Regions from separate parts of the Homo sapiens genome. Here region 2 is linked to region 1. The links are contacts of gene promoters, found by promoter capture Hi-C in blood cells and fetal thymus (Javierre and others, 2016). All regions are on one chromosome and are shown on one strand. Each heading gives the region's core, a stretch centred on a gene start or on the middle of the fragment in contact. The rest is flanking DNA. Distances are from core to core; before and after follow the strand shown. Region 1 holds the start of PSMB2 (proteasome 20S subunit beta 2). Region 2 holds the start of TMEM35B (transmembrane protein 35B).

Region 1 (6,201 bases), core at 2,039-4,538:
TGGAAAGAAAGAAGGATGAATCAGCTTAAAAGATAGTCCTTAAAAATAATAATAAAAATACTGTGGATCTTCCAATTCAGAAATCTGCAGCGTTTGTGAATGAATGAATATTGGTATGTACAAAGGAAAAGTCTGGAAGGATACAGACATTCAGTGGGTGGTTACCTTTGGCGGAAGGAAAGGTATTTAACTCTTTGTTTCTTCTATATTGTTTGTGTATGTGTGTATATATAGTATAACTATGTACTTTTTGCAATTAAAAAAACACACAAACACACACAATGAGGATGAGAGAGAGAGAGAGAGAGACCTCCCCCCTCCAAGTGGTATTTAAGAAAACAATCTTTCTAGAGTGATGGATGCAGCTGTGTTCATAGTGGATGGTTGACTTAATGACCTCACTTGCCCCTGGCATCCATCCCATGATTGATAGGCTGCCTCAAACTCCTCAGGCTCTGTGTTCCTTTATGTGCAGGGAGCTGGAAGAAACATTCAGAATAAAGTATTACAATTTCTGCAGAGACAAACGAATTGCATAGTTGTGTTTGGAGATACAACTGCAACTCGTTTCCCATTTCTCAATAAGCTAGTATGAAGACTCAGTTGTGGATGTCAGAAACCCAATCAAGAAATATTTCACCTTTTTTTCAGAATTGCTTCAAGATATAAAGGGATGGCTGTTTTTTTTTCTATTAGAAAAAATACAAATAGTACATGAGCACTGTAAAACATTCAAACAATACCCATGTGTATAAAATAAAAAGTGAAAGTTCTCCCTTCAAATTACACTCACCAGGGTAATAAATGCAAATAATTTGACACTAGAATACCTGTAAACAGGTATTTACAGGTATTCCATTCATATTCAAATATTCATAGTTAAACAAAATGGCATCAGGCTACATATAAAAAAGCATTTTTACTTTCACTTAATGTATCTTGGGCCATGGAATATATAGGTATATTTAGATTCATCTCATTCTTTTTATGGGTGCACAATATTCCACTATGACTGTACTACATTTTTTTTTTTTTTGAGACAGAGTTTTGCCCTTGTTGCCCAGGCTGGAGTGCAGTGGCACGATCTCAGCTCACTGTAACCTCTGTCTCCCAGGTTCAAGCGATTCTCCTGCCTCAACCTCTTGAAGTGGCTGGGATTACAGGCGCCTGCCACCTCGCCCGGCTAATTTTTTGTATTTAGTAGAGACCGGGTTTCACCATGTTGGTCAGGCTGGTCTCGAACTCCTCACCTCACGTGATCCACCTACCTTGGCCTTCCAAAGTGATGGGATTACAGGCATGAGCCACCACACCCGGCCCAACAATGTCTCCACTTTTAGACACGTAAGTTGGTCCTCTTTTGTGTTGTAGTGCTGCAACACTAAATATCTCTCTCTCTTTTTTTTTTTTTTTTGAGAGAGAGTCTTGCTCTGTTGCCCAGGCTGGAGTGTAATGGTGTGATCTTGGCTCACTGCAACCTCTGCCTCCCGGGTTCAAGCGATTCTCTTGCCTTGGCCTCCCCAGTAGCTGGGATTACAGGTGCCGCACCACCACGCCCAGCTAATTTTGGTATTTTTAGTAGAGACGGGGTTTCATCATGTTGGCCAGGCTGGTCTCGAACTCCTGAACTCGTGATCCGCTCGTCTTGGCCTCCCAAAGTGCTAGGATTACTGGCGTGAGCCACTGCCCCTGGCAACACTGAGTATCTCGGTACACAAATATTTGGACTGTGTGTCCAAACATTTCTTTTGGACATATTCAAAAGGTTATGCATATTTAACAGATATTAAAATTGTTCTCTATAAAAAGGTTGTACAACTTAGAACCTTACCCCCAATTTATACTTTCTCATTGTTTCTTATTTCCCATTTTCCTAATTACCATCAAGGTTGAGGATCTTTTCATGTTTATTGGCCATTCGTGTTGCTTCTTTTGTGAATTGTTTTTCTTAGTCTTTGGTCTTTTTTTATTTTTTATTTTTTTTTTTGAGATGGAGTCTCTCTGTTGCACAGGCTGGAGTGGAGGGGCGCTATCTCGGCTCACTGCAATCTCCGCCTCCTAGGTTCAAGCAATTCTCCTGCTTCAGCCTCCGGAGTAGTACAGGCGCCTGCCACCACGCCCAACTAATTTTTTGTATTTTTAGTAGGGACGGGGTTTCACCATATTGGCCAGGCTGTTCTCGAACTCCCGACCTCTTGATCCGCCCCCGTGCCCTGCCGGGTCTTTTAAAAATGGTATTGTCTCACCCGGCTCCCCTCCCATTGGTTTGTAGGAATATCTTTTAAGTTATAGATATTAACTTTTTCCTTTCTTCTGTCTATAAGGTCCAAAATAGTAACTATTTCTACAATTGAAACATTCCCAATTTACATTTACTGTTGAGCATGATAATGACTTTCACCACATAGAGACGTGTAATTTTAGGTAGTCAAATCTGTCAAGTCTTTTCTCATATTGCTTCTGGGTTCCCTGTCAAGCTTAGAAACACATCTCTTCCAAAAATTACAGAAATATTTTTCTACTTTTTCTTCCATGTTTGTATCTCTCTCCCTCTCTTTTTTTTTTTTTTTTTTTTTTTTTTTTTTTTTTTTTTTTTTTTGAGACGGAGTTTCGCTTTTGTTGCCCAGGCTGGAGTGCTCACCGCAACCTCCGCCTCCAGGGATCAAGCGATTCTCTGTCTCAGCCTCCAGAGTAGCTGGGATTACAGGCATGCGCCACCACGCCCAGCTAATTTTGTATTTTTAGTAGAGACGGGGTTTCTCCATATTGGTCAGGCTGGTCTCGAACTCCCAAGCTCAGGTGATCCGCCTGCCTTGGCCTCCCAAAGTGCTGGGATTACAGGCGTGAGCCACTGCGCCCGGCCATGCTTATATCTTTAATCCAACCATATACTATTTTTGTGAAGGATGGAAGTAAGGCTCCCCTCAAGTTAATTTTTCTCCAATCTGGCTTGCAGGAAAGGGGTTTCTGGGGAGATTTTACCGAGCAACGTAGGGAAACGGCTGCCTGGCTACCTACCCCTTTTTGACACCCACACGTGCTCGGCACCTTACATACACTGCGTGATTTTATCCTAAAGCCACTTTTAAAATCTTAGTGTGTAAACAGAGAAACTGGGCGTCACATAAGGCAAGTGACCTGCACAGCCTGCTCCGGAGGAGACCCGTACGATCCCAGAGACAAGCACTGAACATAAGGCACCCGGCGCCGCGCCCGCTTTGCAACCTCTCGCGACAGTTGTACGTCATCCGAGAGCGCCGTGGAAGTCGTGCTGCAGGCGTCGCGCCAATCTTCGCTCTGAGGTGCTGTCTCACCGGTGAGACCTGGAAGCGGGCGAGTCTCGTGCTGTGTCGGACCTGCAGCCCCTGGCCTTCCGCCACCATGGAGTACCTCATCGGTATCCAAGGCCCCGACTATGTTCTTGTCGCCTCCGACCGGGTGGCCGCCAGCAATATTGTCCAGATGAAGGACGGTGAGAGGAAGCAGGGGAGGCCCGGCCAGGCCTGGGGTGTAGGAGCGGCCAGAAGGAGTTTGTCGGGGGTTGAATAAGTACCAGGGAGGATCTGAGAGATGGAAGCCGGCCTGCCCTGCCCGTACTTATTTTATTTATTTATTTATTTTTTCGAGAGGGGTTTCGCTCTTGTTGTCCAGGCCGGAGTGCAATGGCGCGATCTCGGCTTAGCACAGTCTTTGTCTCCCGGGTTCAAGCGATTCTCGTGCCTCAGCCTCCCGAGTAGCTGGGAACAGATATGCGCCACCACGCCTGGCTAATTTTTGTATTATTAGTAGAGATGTGGATTTCTCCATATTGGTCAGGCTGGTCTCGAACTCCCGACCTCAGGAGATCCGCCCGTCTCGGCCTTCCAAAGTGCTGGGATTACAGGCGAAACAGGCAGACAGGTCTGGGACCTTGGCATTTGCTCCTCCAGGGCTCCTGGGTCAGTGCTCTGCTCTGGCCTTCGCTAAATGCTTCTTGCTTGGTGAGAGTTGCCTAAAGGGAATCAGTTTATAAATGTTTAAGCGCCTGCCCAGAGCCTGGCTCTCTAGATCCCCGAATCTCTGATAAGTTTCCTGGTGTCGCTAGTAATGAGGTTAGTTTGTTGGCGGCATAAGGTGGGATCCTGAGGAGAGTGAGACTGTGGGACTGGCTCTCTAGATCCCCGAATCTCTGATAAGTTTCCTGGTGTCGCTAGTAATGAGGTTAGTTTGTTGGCGGCATAAGGTGGGATCCTGGGGAGAGTGAGACTGTGGGACCAGAAGCTTGGCATTTTCCTTCTTCCCGTGGCTCCCGATTCTTCTTTTCCAGTTTTCCAGAGCAATGGCTGCCAGGTTTTCCTTATATTTAAGTAGTTAATGGAGTTAAGAGATTGGAGCCCTGTCATTTATTTGCCTTATGAGTTTGTATAAGTTATTTTGCAGTGCCCAGATTTCCTCATCTTTAAGATTAGCAATACCAAACTCACAAACTTGTCGGGAGGATTTAGTAAATGAGTTATGTGCAAATCCTTAGCACTAGGCAGGTACTTAATAATACTAAGTGTACGTAGGTGCCCAAACATATTTGTCAAATGACCATTAAGTCATCTGAACCAAAGCTTAATACTTTTTCAACAGTAGCACGTCTTTGATCAGTTAAGGAAAACAAACTTAGATTCTGCAGAAAAACAACCAAAATCTTCTTAAAATTATGTATTGAGTAATTTAGTATAGATAGTATAGTATAGTATAGTATAGTATAGTATAGTATAGTATATTATAGTACTTAGGGGCAAAATGTCTGGACTCACTGCATAGGTTGAACCCAGGTTCTGCCACTTGTGACCTTAAGCAAATTTCTCTAACTCCGTGCCCTAGAGCTAACATCTATAAGGTGGTAATGTAATAGCACCTATCTCAAAAGGTTAATGAATTAATGTAAATCACTTAACATAGCACCTTATACTTTATGAAATTCTATGATTAGTTTGTAGAAGTTTTGTTTGTAAGCCAGTCCTTCCAAAGGAGTGAATTTGTTTTGAGAGTAAATTTGTCCATTATTTTGAATACTAAGGTCTTTGACAAGCAAGTGATTTTAACATTAAGTCATGTCTAGGTAGAACAATAATCATTATCTTTACAGGTCTTTTGTTTCATCCCAAATGTATGTGAAATCACATTGAAAAGTAGAATGTGCTTTAAGCCTACTTATGTACACAGTACTTTTAGTCATTATAGGGGATGCAGTATATTACTTATAACCCATAGAAGAGTCCAAGACATTAAGAAAACAAGGAAATAAATGCTGCAAGATGATTTTATATAATAAAAGAAGTATTACTAGTTAGTAGTAGGTTGGTTTTTAAATTAATGAGTTCAAGAGCAAATCCTAAGAGTAATAAAAGAAAGATAACTATGGTATGGGAGAAAGATGAATTTGAGTTAGTTCTTGAAAAATAATTGGAAATAGTTGCACTCTGCACATTCCAATTTTCCCTATAGTCTTTTCTGGTATAAAACAAATTATAATAGAAATTTTAGTATTGTATGATGACTTTTTTATTTATTTTATTTATTTATTTTTGAGACAGAGTCTCGCTCTGTCACCCAGGCTGGAGTGCAATGGCGCGATCTCGGCTCACTGCAACCTCCACCTCCTGGGTTCAAGCGATTCTCCTGCCTCGGCCTTCCAAGTAGCTGGGATTACAGGCGCCCGTCACCATGCCCAGCTAATTTTTGTATTTTTAGTAGAAACGGGGTTTCACCAGTTTGGCCAGGCTGGTCTCAAACTCCTGACCTCAGGTGATCCACCTGCCTCCGCCTCCCAAAGTGCTGGGATTACAGGCGTGAGCCACCGTGCCCAGCCGTCTGATGACTTTTTTCTAATCATTCATTTCACGATGGAGCTTGTTTAGAGTAGGCAAGAATGCTGAAAAAATAGTAACCTTCTGGGACTCCTTTCTCCAAGTATAAAATGATAATACAACTTCCAATCAATTGTCCAGTATGTCACTTTGTAAAAACATTTTGATACTATAGAGTAGACATTTGCTGAGGATTGCCACCTTATTAAGTGGTATAACTTTTGGTTTGCTTATATGCCGCATTTCATGTCTCTTTTCTCTTGGCCTATGTAGAATTGCTTTTAAGTTACTCGGAGTACTCCAGCCCACACAGAATTCTCTCTTTTCTGAATTCCTATAGCATGTATAATCCGAACTACAT
Region 2 (6,201 bases), core at 1,848-4,347, 660 kb after region 1:
ATGTTACAATTCAACACAGGATTGATGAACTATCTGCAGACATTGAAGACCAGCTGATTCAAAAGGTCAGAGAGTCAAAGTGGTTTGCCCTTCAGATAGATGAGTCATCAGAAATCTCAAATATCACACTTCTTTTGTGCTATATTCGTTTCATTGATTATGATTGTCGTGATGTAAAAGAAGAATTATTATTTTGCATTGAAATGCCTACTCAAATAACTGGCTTTGAAATATTTGAACTAATAAATAAATATATTGATAGTAAATCTCTGAATTGGAAACATTGTGTTGGTCTCTGTACCGATGGGGCTGCAAGCATGACTGGCAGGTATTCTGGTTTAAAAGCAAAAATTCAAGAAGTTGCCATGAATACAGCGGCATTTACACATTGTTTTATTCACCGTGAACGTTTAGTGGCAGAAAAGTTGTCTCCATGTTTACATAAAATTCTTTTGCAGTCAGCACAAATTTTAAGTTTTATAAAGAGCAATGCATTAAATTCACGTATGTTAACAATTTTGTGTGAAGAGATGGGATCTGAGCATGTGAGTTTACCGCTTCATGCTGAAGTACGTTGGATATCAAGAGGGAGAATGTTAAAAAGATTATTTGAATTACGACATGAGATTGAAATATTTTTAAGTCAAAAGCATTCAGATTTGGCCAAGTATTTTCATGATGAGGAATGGGTTGGAAAGCTGGCCTACTTATCAGATATATTTTCACTTATAAATGAATTAAATTTAAGTCTCCAAGGAACTTTGACTACTTTCTTCAATTTGTGTAATAAAATTGATGTATTTAAGAGAAAGTTAAAAATGTGGTTGAAGCGCACACAAGAGAATGATTATGACATGTTCCCTTCATTTTCTGAATTCTCAAATTCATCAGGCTTAAATATGACAGACATCACAAGGATTATTTTTGAGCACCTGGAAGGACTTTCTCAAGTGTTCAGTGACTGTTTTCCACCAGAACAAGACTTGCGTTCAGGAAATTTGTGGATAATTCACCCTTTTATGAATCACCAAAATAATAATCTCACCGACTTCGAAGAAGAAAAGCTAACAGAGCTATCTTCAGATTTAGGATTACAAGCACTATTTAAATCAGTGTCTGTAACTCAGTTTTGGATAAATGCAAAGACAAGTTACCCAGAACTCCATGAAAGGGCAATGAAATTTTTATTACCCTTTTCAACTGTTTATTTATGTGATGCTGCCTTTTCAGCTTTGACTGAGTCAAAACAAAAAAATCTGTTGGGTTCTGGCCCTGCCCTAAGACTTGCAGTCACATCTTTAATTCCAAGGATAGAAAAATTAGTGAAGGAGAAAGAGTAGCAATATGCACATTGCTTAACAGTGAAGTCAATAATCCTGTGTTAAGTTTTGTATAAGTATCCTAAAAGATAATTTCCTAATGTGGATTTGTGTTTTCAGTGATTAAATGTTTTAATAATTTTTCCCTTTTTGTTGAGGAATTTAATAATTATGATTGTTATAAATAATTATGTATAATTATAATCTAGGGTAGAAAATTTAGTTATTTCATTAAATTTGGACTAGTGACAAAGACTGCAGGTAATGAGAAGCCCAGTTTATAATGTAACAGCACAACCTGGATGTTGAAACAGCTTGGCCTTTAGAAGCAAGTGGAACATTTCAGTCTTCTAGCCAACCAGCTACTTACCCCTGCAAGGTTGTGAGTAGGTGGAAAAGATAGATCTTTTTTTTGAGATGGAGTTTTGCTCTTGTTGCCCAGGCTGGAGTGCAATGGCGTGATCTTGGCTCACTGGAACCTCTGCCTCCTAGGTTCAAACAATTCTCCTGCCTCAGCCTTCCAAGTAGCTGGGGTTACAGGCATGTGCCACCATGCCCGTCTATTGTATTTTTTTTAGTAGAGACGGGGTTTCACCATATTGGTCAGGCTGGTCTCTATCTCCTGACCTCAAGTGATCCACCTGCCTCGGCCTCCCAAAGTGCTGGGATTACAAGTGTGAGCCAACGTGCCCAGCTGGAAAAAGATAGATCTAAGCAGCTTGGGTAACTATAAATGGAAGCAGCAGGGGGATTTGAGACCCCTGCTTGGGGCCTTTCTGGCCCAATATACCAGGGCTTAGCAAACTTTTTAAATAAAGAGCCAGATAGTAAATATTTTCAGCTTTGCAGGCCATACTGTCACAACTACTCAATTCTGCAGTTGCAGTGCAAAAGCAGCCATAGACAATATGCAGATAAGTGTGGCTGTTTTTAAATAAAACTTATTCATGAACACTGAAATATGAATTTCATATAATTTTCCTATGTCACACAAGCTTCTTTAAAAAATGTTTTTATCATAAAAAATGTAAACAAACATTATTAGCTTGGGGGAAGGGGAGAAGCATGGAAAAAAATCAGACATCTGGCCAAATTTGGCCCATGGTTTGCCCATCCCAGCTTTAGACAGATTTCCAGGTAAGAGCAAATGGGCCAGGAGTGGACTGTAGGGCTTGGTTCAGTGAAAGCCTCTCTATCCATGCAAGTATCTGAATTTTCAAACACCTTTCACATTTCATTGTCAGCCGAGATAAATTAGAGGGAAAAGATATCTCAGGCAAAGAGACTTATTTAATAATTAATGGTTATTGATTTATTACAATTTTATAAATTAATTTACTAATTTACAAATAACTTTCTGAGCTCTTACATGTGCAGGCACTGTGCTAGGCCTGTTACAAACTCTGGAGAACTGAGTTATCCCCATATACAGATGCAGATACTGAGGCCCTTTGGGGTGGGTGACAGCTCAGATCCCACAGCTAGTGTGGCACAGGCAGGAACGAAGCCCGGGGTCTTTTGATGGTAGCTGAACCGCACCCAGACACCCACCCGTGTCTGCCAGCACTCCGTATTGGCTGGGAAACACTCCCTGAATCCAAAGGTGCCTGTTTAGTCAGTTACCAGCCAGTGGTCCTCAAGTGTCCCCACCTGTAAGATGGGGGCGCCCTGCCCCAGTACTGCAGCCTCGCGACCCCCTGGAGGGTGGGGGACGGTAGCTCAGGCGAGAGTCTTCCGGCTGCCCCGGGGAGGGAGGAAATGAGCCGGCGGCAGGGGCGGGTTTTCGGCGGGGCCAACCCACGGTGGGGGGAGCGCGGCCATGGCGCTCCTGCTTTCGGTGCTGCGTGTACTGCTGGGCGGCTTCTTCGCGCTCGTGGGGTTGGCCAAGCTCTCGGAGGAGATCTCGGCTCCAGTTTCGGAGCGGATGGTGAGCGGCGCGGGCGGGCGGCAGGGGATCGGGCCCGCGGCGGCGTGTGCTCCGCCCTGCCGCTCCTCGCCCCCGGCCCGGCAGGCCGCCTTCGGGCTTCCGAGGCTCAGCTGGAGCTGGGGGAAAGCGCCTGGCTTTCGACTGAGGCGCAGGTCCTGCCTGGGGAGTTCCTCGAGTTCTCTGGATCTTCCCTAGACGGAAGGGGACAGAACCTCCCCTTCCTGCAGAATATTGGTGGCCCCAGGCAAATCTAGAGCCTTAGGAGGTCCCTCCCACCCCCCCGGACCCTGGGGGAGGATGATGCGGTGGGAAAATGAGCTCACTTCCCGCTCTCTTCCCTCTTTTCGCCGTTTGCTTCAGTTTTTGGGAGGTTCGTGGGGTTGGGGTGTAGTAATCCTGGCTTTGCAGGGAAGGAAGCCCGCCCTGAAGGGCAAGTATATCTGCTAAAGATTGCACATCTAGTCAGGAAGCAGGACACAAGCTAGACACTCCTAACTCGGAACCCAGAGAGGGAAGCCTCTCTCGGAAGCCTGAGAGGGATGCCCTGAAGTCGTCTTTCAGCCTTCTGTCTAGTTCCAGACTCATGGGAAAGCTTTCATATCCTGTTCACCAATCTCCCCAGTCCCTCAAAAGAGCCAGACTTGTAGACCTCTGCTGGCATCTCTCTCCAAGGCCTGGATAAATCCCCAGAGACAGACAGCTTAGAGCTGCTTCCCAGCAGAGCTGAGGAGGGGAGGTAGAGCTGAGGAGTGGGAACAGGAAAAAGTATCCCCGAAAGTAAGGATGAAGTTGTCATTTGGCTCAGGGGAGGGCCTGCCTTGACAAGAAGAGTCACTTTGAGCCCACCTAACTCTGCCTCACCTCCAAATATTCCCTGTACAGCAGCCTTAAGAGAAACCAGGCCAGACACAAAGAAGGAAACTGTGGAATTCCCCAGGCCTTGGCACTAGGGAGCCAAGCCCAGCCCCCTCCTCCTGGGATTTGGGGCTGGGTTGTAATCTCTTGAGAGGTCTAGTGAGAAGATCAATCTCTGTACCACTTGGAGCATGGAGCCTGTTTCCTGATTCCAAAGCTCAGCGCCACAGGGCAGCCCTCTCCTCTTCAGGCTGACCTCAGCCCTGGACCTGACCTAGAGTAGTAGTTCTTTTCTCTGGGAAGTTGAGGGCACAGGCATAGATATGCCATGGAGCATCTGGGGAGCTCATCCTTGTTGAACAATGAGGCTAACAGGCATTCCTTGCCACCCCTAGAATGCCCTGTTCGTGCAGTTTGCTGAGGTGTTCCCGCTGAAGGTATTTGGCTACCAGCCAGATCCCCTGAACTACCAAATAGCTGTGGGCTTTCTGGAACTGCTGGCTGGGTTGCTGCTGGTCATGGGCCCACCGATGCTGCAAGAGATCAGTAACTTGTTCTTGATTCTGCTCATGATGGGTAAGGGGGCCAACTGGCCTGAGAAAATGGGGTCTTCTGGGGGAGGATTATGGAAAGACCTGGCTGTTCCCCCTTACTGTTGCCACCCTTCTTTTTTCTCTGGGATCAAGAGCACTTTCTGCTCTACCACAGTTTCCATGGTCTTCAAACTAGCACAGGTATTTTTTTTTTTTTTTTTTTTTTTTTTTGAGATGGAGTCTCGCTCTTTCGCCCAGGCTGGACTGCAGTGGCACTATCTCTGCTCACTGCAACCTCCGCCTCCTGGGTTCACACCATTCTCCTGCCTCAGCCTCCCGAGTAGCTGGGACTACAGGCGCCTGCCACAGCGCCCGACTGATTTTTTTGTATTTTTAGTAGAGACAGGGTTTCACCATGTTAGCCAGGATGGTCTCGATCTCCTGAACTCGTGATCTGCCCGCCTTGGCCTCCCAAAGTGCTAGGATTACAGGCTTGAGCCACTATGCCCGGCCTAGCACAGGTACTTTTTAAACTTAATGTGCTAGAACATTATCACATGTTAAGTGTACCTTCTACCTCCTCAATTCTAATGGCTGCATAGTATTGCCTTGTGAAGATATATTGCAAGCTCAGCGCCTCTGCTCCTTCCTCCACACATCCACTCCTAGGATGAGGGGATGGAGGAGCAGCTGCCATTTGATGCATGTGTCTGGCAGATTGGTGTAGAGAGCAGGGAAGCTGGAGAACCTTGAACAGGAAGGCAGAGAATTTCCCTAGGGAGTCCCCCTCAAGTAGCTCTGCCCACAGGAACTGCTGATGTACAAAGACAGCTGTTGCTTCAAAGGCCAGATATCTTCAGGCTCTTCTATATGCCCTGGCATCTGTTACCATTGCTGCCACTGCTACCAGGCTTGCTTCCATCTCTGGAGCTTCTCCCATTTTCAGATCTTTCCCATACCTCCAACCAACAGCCCCTGGGCTAGTCCTTCCCTCCATCTTAATCTTAGTAGATGTAGGATTAAGAAAGGAGAAGGGGCCAGACACGGTGGCTCATGCCTGTAATCCCAGCACTTTGGGAGGCCGAGGCGGGCGGATCACAAGGTCAGGAGTTCAAGACCAGCCTGACCAACATGATGAAACCCCGTCTCTACTAAAAATACAAACATTAGCCGGGCGTGGTGGTGCGCGCCTGTAATCCCAGCTACTCAGGAGGCTGAGGCAGGAGAATCGCTTGAAGCCAGTACCCAGAACCCAGTAGCCCAGCTACTCAGAAGGCTGGCAGGAGATCACGCCATTGCACTCCAGCCTGGGTGACAGAGCAAGCCTCTGCCTCAAAAAAAAAAAAAAAAAAGGAAAGGAGAAGGATCAGGGAGATTTTTTTTTCTAAAATCTATCCACTCTAGCCACTGCCCTATTTGGCTGGGTCATTCCCGTTTCTTTCTTGTCCTCTGAGAGGGGCAACTGTTGCCACTGCTGCTGTTGTTCAAGAGGCTTCTAATTTCCTGGTCCTGCTTTCTCCAGGAGGCTAGAGATGAATGCCGCTAGTTTTGGGAATGTGCGTTAGGA

The links. Contacts are between HindIII fragments. The CHiCAGO score rates a contact against its expected background, and 5 or more counts as called.
Region 2: a contact is called between the fragment with the promoter of TMEM35B here and the fragment with the promoter of PSMB2 in region 1, in 3 of 17 cell types (naive CD4 T cells, fetal thymus and M2 macrophages). The highest score is 6.5, in naive CD4 T cells.

The regions. Positions count from the first base shown.
Region 1 is chr1:35,638,613-35,644,813 of GRCh38, reverse strand. It overlaps PSMB2 (proteasome 20S subunit beta 2), which reads left to right and starts at 3,288. Exons shown (of 6, transcript NM_002794.5): 1 at 3,288-3,472. The coding sequence starts at 3,382. RefSeq lists enhancers at 2,383-3,347, 3,100-3,559, 3,348-4,313. The HindIII fragment of the contact is 1,783 bases long and covers 2,480-4,262 here.
Region 2 is chr1:34,982,243-34,988,443 of GRCh38, reverse strand. TMEM35B (transmembrane protein 35B) reads left to right here and starts at 3,097. Exons shown (of 3, transcript NM_001195156.2): 1 at 3,097-3,246; 2 at 4,497-4,677. The coding sequence starts at 3,139. It overlaps ZMYM6 (zinc finger MYM-type containing 6), which reads left to right. Exons shown (of 16, transcript NM_007167.4): 16 at 1-2,279. The coding sequence ends at 1,340. RefSeq lists silencers at 3,119-3,408, 3,469-3,538. The HindIII fragment of the contact is 1,524 bases long and covers 2,317-3,840 here.